2 separate regions of the Homo sapiens genome follow, and region 1 is linked to region 2. The links are contacts of gene promoters, found by promoter capture Hi-C in human tissues and cell types (Jung and others, 2019). All regions are on one chromosome and are shown on one strand. Each heading gives the region's core, a stretch centred on a gene start or on the middle of the fragment in contact. The rest is flanking DNA. Distances are from core to core; before and after follow the strand shown. Region 1 has its middle 16 kb from the start of LINC03124. Region 2 holds the start of MZT2A (mitotic spindle organizing protein 2A).

What was found. Contacts are between HindIII fragments. The study calls those that stand out against the background at their distance.
Region 1: a fragment that was not itself captured here is called in contact with the fragment with the promoter of MZT2A in region 2 in 2 of the 25 tissues and cell types used here (lymphoblastoid cells and mesenchymal stem cells).

What each region holds. Positions count from the first base shown.
Region 1 is chr2:131,664,225-131,668,868 of GRCh38, forward strand. No RefSeq gene overlaps it. Among named protein-coding and RNA genes, the nearest start is that of LINC03124, 16 kb to the right of the region's middle. The HindIII fragment of the contact is 4,481 bases long and covers 922-4,644 here.
Region 2 is chr2:131,489,514-131,494,235 of GRCh38, forward strand. It overlaps MZT2A (mitotic spindle organizing protein 2A), which reads right to left and starts at 2,884. Exons shown (of 3, transcript NM_001085365.2): 1 at 2,694-2,884; 2 at 2,363-2,511. The coding sequence starts at 2,863. It overlaps MIR4784 (microRNA 4784), which reads right to left and starts at 1,723; the gene lies at 1,647-1,723. It also overlaps the pseudogene SMPD4BP. RefSeq lists enhancers at 2,215-3,008, 3,009-3,802 and silencers at 2,605-3,114, 3,635-3,824. The HindIII fragment of the contact is 8,382 bases long and covers 1-4,722 here.

The DNA of each region.
Region 1 (4,644 bases), core at 1,912-4,411, 170 kb after region 2:
TTATTTTCTTCATTATTTGGTTTTTGAATCAGTAAATGCTTTCCACAGGGGTCATCTTATTAGTCATCTTGTCATTTTGCTGCGTCCCATCTTCGTCCTTGCAATTTTTCCTTTTTCCCATTTTGGCATGTATTGAGAGGAGTGTTATGCTGATGAAATGCCCTGTCCTGAATTGCTATCTGATTAGAACTTCCCTCAATTTTTAAAATGCTTCTTGACATGGTTTGGATTTGTGCACCCCCCACCCCCAATCTCATGTGGAATTGTAATTGCCAGTTTTGGAGGAGGGGCTTTCTGGAAGGTGACTGGATCATAGAGGTGGTTTCTAATGGAATGGTTTAGCCTAATCCCCCTCGTGCTGTCTGATGATAAAGTTCTCCTGAGATCTGCTTGTTTAAAAAGTGTGTAGCACCTCCCCTGACTCCTTTCAGCCATGTGAATATGTGCTTGCTTCCTTTTCACCTTCTTCCATGATTGTAAGTTTCCTGAGGCCTCCCTATAAGCATAAGTCTGTACAGCCCACGGAACTGTGAGCCAATTCAATCCCTTTTCTTTTTCAATTACCCACTCTCATGTATATCTTTATAGCAGTGTGAGAACAGATTAATACACTCCTCCTCAGAAAGCATTCAATTTAGCTGTGTCTAAAGTATGCCAGGTGTCCTAGGGTGTTATCTTAGCCAATAATTCTTCCTCTTCAGCAAGATCTATTTGCCTATGACAGCTTGACCTACAGTTCCTACCATACTTGTCAGTAACAAGTAGCCCATAACATCTGAAGGGACTTCATTGAAATCACAGAGGTTCTTTAGTTCTTTACCTCATTAGTAGGCATTAGGGAAGCACATCAACTTTCTAATTTAATAAGGTGCCTGTTGCTTTGAAAAACTGCTCAAAAAAAGATAGGAGAGGCTTACTTAAAGATATCACTATAGGCGTGGCATGCTGCTTCACACCTGTAATCCTAGTACTTTGGGAGGCTGAGGAGAGAGGATCACTTGAGTCCAGAAGATCAATACCAACCTAGGTGACATGGCAAAGCCCCATCTCTACAAAACAAAACAAAATCAAAAAAAATATTTAGGCATGGTGGCATGTGCTTGCATTCCCAGTTGCTCAGGAGACTGAGGTGGGAGAATCACTGAGCCCAGGGAGGTTGAGGCTGCAGTGAGCCATGATCATGCTGCTGCATTCCAATCTGGGTGACAGAGCAAGAGCCTGTCTCAAAAAAAAAAAAAAAAAAAAAAAAAAAAAAAAAAGGTACTATCTATAACTATTCTTAATTAGAATAACTAGGTTTTTTTCAACAGTGGAAACTCAAAACAGACAAAATTGTTGTACCTCAAGGTGAGTTGTCATAGTCAGTTAATTCCTTTGCTTGCAACTGCCCAATAAATGGATGAGGACTCACTTCACCCATAAATAAGAAAGGTGAACAGCACATGGGGCCTGTAGATGCCTTTTGCAGGGCCCTCTTTTTCTCTTCCTAAAGTTGCAATTTGGGTATTTCTCTAGATGGGCACAACATAGAAACTGTCATCCTAGATCAGAGCCTGGAGAGAGAGATACAGGTGTCATGCTTACATCTGCAGAGTGGGAACAAGCCCAGAAAAATCAAGACGATTAAGCAGAGAGCTTCCATACTGGAGATAAACCAGCTGTGTAAAAAATCATGCTTATTGAGCAAAAAAGCATTGCATCATCGAAATAACTGCTTTAACTAAGAAGTAAAGGAACTGATGCCCCAGCAGAGCACAGAGAGCCACAGAGACAGGAGCTGCGTTTCAAACAAGGTCATTGCTGTTGTCCCCACCCTGAGTTAAGTATCTCTGCTTCACCCTTCTTTACCAAAGTTCTGCTTGATCATCCTTTTGTTTTATTTTCTTTTTTCTGTACTTCACTTCTTTGAGAAAATATAAACCAAAACCTTACATAAAACAGGAATTGAGCTTTTGACAGTGTTAGCCCTTGAAACAACCAAACAAAAAGGTTTCTATTATTTCTCATCTCTGTGCTACCCAATACAGTAGCCAATAGCCCCAGATGACTATTAAAATTAAAATTAATTCAAATAAAACAATTTACAATTTAGCTGGTCAGTTGTACAATTTAGCTGGTCAGTTGTACTACCCACATTTCAGTTACTCAATAGCCACATGTGGCTAGTGGCTACTGAACTGGCCAGCACAAATGTAGAACATTTTCATCATCATAGTTCTCTAGGCCATGGAAAACTTGCTGAACCAATTTCCAGTGTGCACATTTATTTGCATACCTAGGAGCTTTTTGACCCTGTGTTGAGATGCCTAACCAGCTTCCTGATTGACCTCCTGATATTTCTGCAAATGTGGACTAAGAGGCCAGGATTCCTCAGGGCCCAGGTGACTCAGGTTATTCAGAAATTATATTTGGACTACCAGTCCTCTGCTTGATTTGGGATGCAAAAAGGGACTTCTCTCCCTAATCACTAAAGTAGCTTTTCAAGGTCCCCCTCTCATCACGGTAAGAGTCTCATTTCTTGAGACTCTTATTTCTTTCCATGACTTATGTTTTGGAAAGAGTGGATTCAGACAGAAGAGCTGGCTCTGTGCTGGTTTTCCAGGGGTCAACCCTTTTGTCAGTGACAAGTCTGCCTCTCTACATGATGTACATTGTGTCCCACTACTGGTAATAGAAGCTCAGCAATTGATTGACTGTTAGGTTATTTTCAAAGCTCAATATTCACAATAATCTAAAAGACCCCCACATAACCATGAGGACAGACAGGGCTTTCATAACCTGCAAAAGACAAGGTGCAAATTTCTTCTTTCCATCCCAGCAACAAATCGACAACTCAGCCAGCACTTAAGTTGGGGTAAAAATTAATTAAAAGAAGAATGTATCAAGCAGAGATAAAAGAACAAAAAAGCTATTGCAGCTGTCCTCTCCATGACAGAGGCCTGTGATTTGAATTTTAATGTTTTCATCTACTTTCTGCTTTTGTGTTTCTTTTATTATTTTTTTCACTATCTCTTATTTGTAGATACAAATTTTTCATATTTAAAAGCTATTTTAAATATAATCTTTAAAAGGAGAAGCATTCTTTTTTTTAATTGCACAAAATACTGAAGGTGAGATCCACTGATTGCAATGCAATGGGACAGTATCTCTGGAAGCAATTTTATCCAGAAAAATAAATAGCTTTAAAACAATTCACAACCTTGGACCTAATACCTCTACTTCTAGGAAGCTAGCCTATGAAGGTTTCTGCTGAAGGATGTTTATCACAGTATTATTAATAATGCGAAAAAGCCAAAGAGGAGACCTAAAATGTTTCAAAGATGAAAACGGTTTGATAAAATCATTTTTTTTTGAGACAAGGTCTCACTCTTGCCCAGGCTGGGGTGCAGTGGCACAATCTCGGCTCACCGCAACCTCCACCTCCCAGGTTCAAGCACTTCTCCTGCCTCAGCCTCCCAAGTAGCTGGGAATACAGGCACCCCCACCATGCCTGGCTATTTTTTTGTATTTTAGTAGAGATGGGGTTTCACTGTGTTGGCCAGGCTGGTGTCAAACTCCTGAGCTCAGGCAATCCACCTGCCTCGGATTCCCAAAATGCTGGGATTACAGGCATGAGCCACCATGCCTGGCAATAAACAACATATTTAAACTCTAAAATGTTATGCAAGCATTCCAGGCATGCTTTGGAAAAACTATTAATCCTACAAAAGATGCTTATGTTATTATATAGACTAACAGACCAAGATTCTCCAGGACACTTACTTTGTTAAGTGTCTGAAGTAAAATACAATGCTGTATATAAAATGTGACCTCAAGTCAGGTCCCAGTCTTTTCATCTGGGAAATTCTGTTAATTATACTGCCCTTCCCCTTTATAGGTTTTCTGTAGGAGTTAAATAAAATCCACTTTGTTAATTGCTTAACACAATGCTCAACACTGGTAGGGGAGCTATAATTGTCAGCTATTGTCCTATGTGCCAAGAAAAAGACCACACAGACAGACACACACACAAACACACAAAGACACACATGGAGGGAGAGGAAGTAAAGATTAGGAAGCAGCACATAGTGTATCAGTAGACAATGGGACCACTAGTGATTTTCATATTCTTTTTTATTTTCTTTTTTATACTGCTTACATTTTCAGTGTTACATAATGAGCATGTATTACTTCTGTAATCAGAAGAAGGTGGTATAAACCTCACCTTAATATAATAAAACAAAATTACTGGCCAGGCACAGTGTCTCATGCCTGTAATCCTAGCACTTTGGAAGGCTGAGACTGGTAAATCTCTTGAGCTCAGGAATTTGAGACCAGCCTGAGCTCAGTGAGACAGTGAGACCTCGTCTCTGGAAAAAATACAAAAATTAGCCAGCGATAGTGGTGTACACCTGTAGTCCTAAGTTACCTGGGAAGCTAAGGTGGGAGGGTGGCTTGAGCCCAGGAAGTGGCTGCAGTGAGCTGTGATTGCACCACTGCACTCCAGCCTGGGTGAAAAAGCCAGACCCAGTCTCATACAAAAATAAAAACAAACAAACAAACAAAAAAGTTATTACTTAAGTCTCACATGCTGTCTTGGAGCCATCTTAGTGTTGAGGGATTCAAGAGACTGGAGAGACCAATGGGTGAGACAGGAGGATTTTA
Region 2 (4,722 bases), core at 1,634-4,133:
GCCACCATGCCTGGCTAATTTTTTTTTTGTATTTTTAGTAGAGATGGGGTTTCACCGTGTTAGCCAGGATGGTCTCGATCTCCTGAGCTCGAGATCCGCCCGCCTCAGCCTCCCAAAGTGCTGGGATTACAGGCGTGAGCCACCGCGCCGGGCCCTGCCTGGCTAGTTTTTGTATTTTTTGTAGAGATGGGGTCTTGCTATGTTGCCCAGGCTGATCTTGAACTCCTGAGCTCAAGGAATCCACCTGCCTTGACTTCCCGAAGTGCTGGGATTACAGGTGTGAGCCAGCACACTGGTCTCACTGGTGGTTTTCCTCACTGCCTCTCACTGGACTGAGTGTGATCATCTCACTTCCCTGCCACGCCCTCTGCCCTGAGAGCTAGGCCTGGCACCCAGAGCCCTGAGTGAGTGCTAAGTGAGCAGCAACATCTCCTGGAGTGACAAGAACTCTGTTCCCAGTTTCTCCCTCCTGCTGGACACTTGCCCCTCAATTGCTCATCTCAGCCTGCAGTCCATACACCCCTACTCCAGGCCTGTCCTTCAGGCCCTCTCCACCCTCTCTTGGGCCTGAGCTCTGGGTGGCAGTGAGGTGGCCGCTGTCAGGAGGCTCATGCAGGAGGCGCGACCAAAGACCCCTGGGCTCTCACAGGCCCCTGATCACACCTGGTGACACCTGGAAAGTGTCCCAACTCAGGAGTGAGGCGGGCAAGGGGGCTGAGTGCTGGAGTGTGGCCATGGGACCAGCACATGGCATCTGTGTGGCACTGCCTGGCAGACTCTGGGAAGGTGGGAGTCTCTGTTTCAGCCTCCAGACTTCCTGTCCAGGTAGGGGACAACTTCTAAGAGGCCGAGGCGTTTGTCACGCCTGGGGCTGTGCTCTCCAGCAGAGCACACTGCACCCGGCTGGCTGTCTTCCCCTGGAGAGGGGCTCTTTACACTCACCACTAGTTCGCCTCTGGGGTGTGGGGATGTTGGTCCTGTCCCCGGATGCCAGCCCGACTGTGGGGTCTAGAGACTGCCACACCATGTCTCTAATAAACCGAGTCAGAAATAGTGCCCTGTGGCTAAGCGGCAGGGCAGCGGTGGCCTGCATGATCCTGCCCTTGCAGCTCAAAGCTGCTTGGGCCTCTTGGGGCCATGCAGTTTCCATGAAAACAAGGAAGAGCACCAACCCCCAGAGATAAGCCAATAAACGCAACCTGCAAAAGGAGAGAACAGGCAGCAAGAGAGGCGGAGGGAACCCGGGGGGCCTGGAGAGAGAGGTGAGTGTGTGGCAGCTGGGCTGTGGAGCATAACCAGAGAGGCCGCAGGCTGCGGGCTGGAGGAAAACGAGGGCCTTGCAGGGGGGCTACTGTTCCTGGCAGAGAGAAAGGAGGCCTCTGGAGGTCAGAGAGAGACACAAAGAGAGCAGACAGAGCGAGGGTCAGTGAAGAGGCCAGCACGCAGGTGCCCGGGCCCTCTTGGGTCAGCGGGCGTGGGTGCCCAGGCCCTGGCACTTCCCCCATGAAGGCAGCCTGCTTTCCACGCCTTCTCATGATGCCTGTGAGGGTCTCCTCCTGCTTCCAGGCAGGGAGCCAGCTCTGGGCCTCCTTCCATTGGCCTGGGAGGTTGTGCTGCATTTCAGAGAGAGCCATCGGGAGCAGAAGCAACATGCGGAGAGGATGAGCAGGGACGGAGGCTCCACCATGACACTCTCAGTCCCAGCATCTCCTCAGCCCAGTCACCACACTGGAGAGGGAGGAGGCCCTTCAGACCCCGCAGGCCTCTGCACCCTGGGAGTTCCGCGTCTAACTCTCTTCCTGCAATCATCAGAGGCAGGAACTGGGCCCAGGTGGGGTAAAGGCAGGAAGACGTCTGCCTGCCCTGCTCCCTGGGCACTTCCCTGGATGCTGTATACCACAGGACAGAGATCGAGACTGTCTTTTGAAAAACATTTAGAGACAGGATCTCACCCTGTCACCCAGACTGGTCTCAAACTCATGGCCTCAAAGGATCCTCCCGCCGTGGGGTCCCAAAGATTATAGGCGTGAGCCACGGCGCCCAGCCCCAAACCGTCTTGATTCCCGACTTTGTAGGATGAAGGCCTGAGTGAAGAGGTGGGGAGGAGCTAAGCGGAGGAGCCCTACCCAGCCTGGACCACCCTGGGGCACGCACTCTGCGTCCACCTGACCTGGACGTGCCTCCTAAGGCTGGCAGCGAAGCCCAGGAGCAGAGCCCACGGATGGGCCCTGCAGGTGCTGGGCCTAGACCGACCGACAGACAGGCCTGGCCACTCAGGGCCACGCCGCCGCTGTGCCGCGCCTGCCCCCTCCCCGCCCGCCACCCCCGCCACTGGGGCAGGGACAGCGGGCCCAGCTCTGACCTCGGGTCTCGGGCACGCTCGACGTGGGCAGAGACACGGCCGCAGGGTCCTGGGGCTCGCTCGCTAGCCTCTGCCCGGCACACATGGACTTGAGCATCTGGAAGACGGCGAGGGGGGCCACGTTCAGCTTCAGCAGGTCCACCAGGATCCTGGCGGGGACAGACGCGGGGCCGGTGAGCCCTCTCCGCCCGGCGCGGCCACCTCCCTGAAGACCGGACAAGGACGGGGGCGGGGGCAGCGGGGGCTCCTCCCGACCAGCGGGCCGGGCGTACCCGGAGAGCAGAGGTCGGGGGTGTCTGGCGAGCATGCGGCCCCCACCCGCCCCGCTCACTTGAACACGTCGGGGTCGATACCGCCGCCCGCCGCCTGAGCCAGCTCGTACAGCTCCATCTCCTCGGTGCTCAGCACCTTCTTGCGCCGCAGCGCCAGCTTCTGCCGGGCCGCCTCCAGCCCCGGGGGCGCCGCCGACCCCGGCCCAGGCCCTACGCCCTGCGCCGCCATCCGCGAGGCCCGCCGAAAGGTGCGCCCCGCCCCGCCGCGCCCCCTAGCGGATGCGCCCACCGCCCTCTCCCTGCAGCGCCAGCGTCTGGCCTCCCGGGCTGCCCTGGCGGGAGCGGCGGGAGCGCGGGGACGGGGCCGCCTCCTCGGCGTCATTGGAGCCCAACAGTTAGTGGGCGCTCACGGTGTGCTGAGCGGCGCGCTAGGCGTCGGGAGTGGCATGGCGGACTGCAGGGGCCAGCTGCTTGGCGGTCAGGGCGTCCCTGATAGACTTGCATTGGTCGTGCTCGCTTAGGTGGCAGCACCCAGCCCAGTGCCAGGCATACATTGGGCGCTCAGTCAATACCTGTTTCAAGAAAGCGTGCAATTTTCTGGTCCGCACCGGTGCACCACTAGGGGTCGCTCTTCGGGGGGGGTGGGGGGCACTAATCAACAACCCTGCTTACGCGCACGCGCATTCCTTGCTAGGGAGAAAGTGCGTGAGCCCTACCTTGGGGCGCCAGAGGCCGCCACAACGCAGGCGCATTCAGCTAAGGACCACTCCCTCCCCCCGCACTCCTGCCTCGCCATTTCCCCTCCCTGGCCGGCCGGCCGGCCTTCTTCGCTTTGCGCACGTACCTTTTGAGGTAACGGCCCAAAGAGGTAGAAGCGCTTTTCCCGCCCGGCCGCGGGGCGTGGCTCTGCGCGCAGCTTGATGACGACGTTTTGGCGCGGTGGCGGAATGGCGGCTTCCACCTCTGAAGCGGGCGACGCTATGGGTCCCACAGGTGAGTGGCGCGGGACGCGCGCGTGAGACGGTCCGACGCCCTGGGGGCTTCCGCGAGCCCCTGCGGAGGCCATCTCCGTTCCTCCGCGAGCCCCAGGACTCGGGCGGCCCGGCGGCTCTGCCCAGGCCGGGCAGGCTGGGGAGTGGAGGGCCCCGGCTGAGTCTTCCTGCCACTCCTCTGGGCCATGCCTTTGTGCCACCTTCCCGCGCCGCTCGTACACTCTGTTCTGGTCCGGTAGGTGTTCGTTGAAGGTTACCCGTCGTTGAAGGAATTGAGGGAAGGAGAGCTTTGTGTTGAAATTGAGCCTTGGGCTCAACAGGCGGTGTGGGAGGAAGAGCCGGGTGTGGGTCCCAGCTCGACCCTTCCCCTGTGCGCTCCACATCTCCGAGCCTTGGTTTCGGAGGCTCCCGAAGCCCAATTCGCAGGAGAGTTGGAAACAAGTGGGCGCGTGCTGTTAAGGGAGGTCTTGGCATGACAGAATTTGCTTGGAATGATTAGCGTTGCCCAAGGGCTGTCGCTGTCAGAAAAACAAAACAAAACGAAACAAAAAAAACAAACGGGTCCGAAGCAGCTCCTGGAGAAAATAGGTGTTGGAGAGTCGCGACGAAGTGGACTCTAGGTGCATGGCACGCAGAGACCTGTGACGGGGGAGGGTGGCCATGGCAGGGTCAGAGAACAGGGGTGTGGGAGACACCTCTTGGGAGTTCTCGGGTTTGAATTTCCTCTCTTGGAAAGTTCCTAGAAATTCCTCTGGGCCTCATTCTTTCAGTCGCTGCCCATGAAAGCTTTTACTGAGCAGAGATGCTCTCCCCTTCATCATCTCTAGAGCTCCGCACTTATCCAGCAGTCCACAGTTTAATGCTGCTTTGATCATTTTGCAGTAGTGCAGTGTTTTCTTGACCAAGTGCATTAGGACTGAGGCGTTTTTCTTTAACACTGCAATTGATAGCTAGGTTAAGAATTGAGGCCGGGCGCGGTGGCTCACGCCTGTAATCCCAGCACTTTGGGAGGCCCAGGCGGGTGGATCACGAGGTCACGAGTTCAAGACCAGCTTGGCCAAGATGGTGAAACCTCGTCTCTAGTAGAAAATACAAA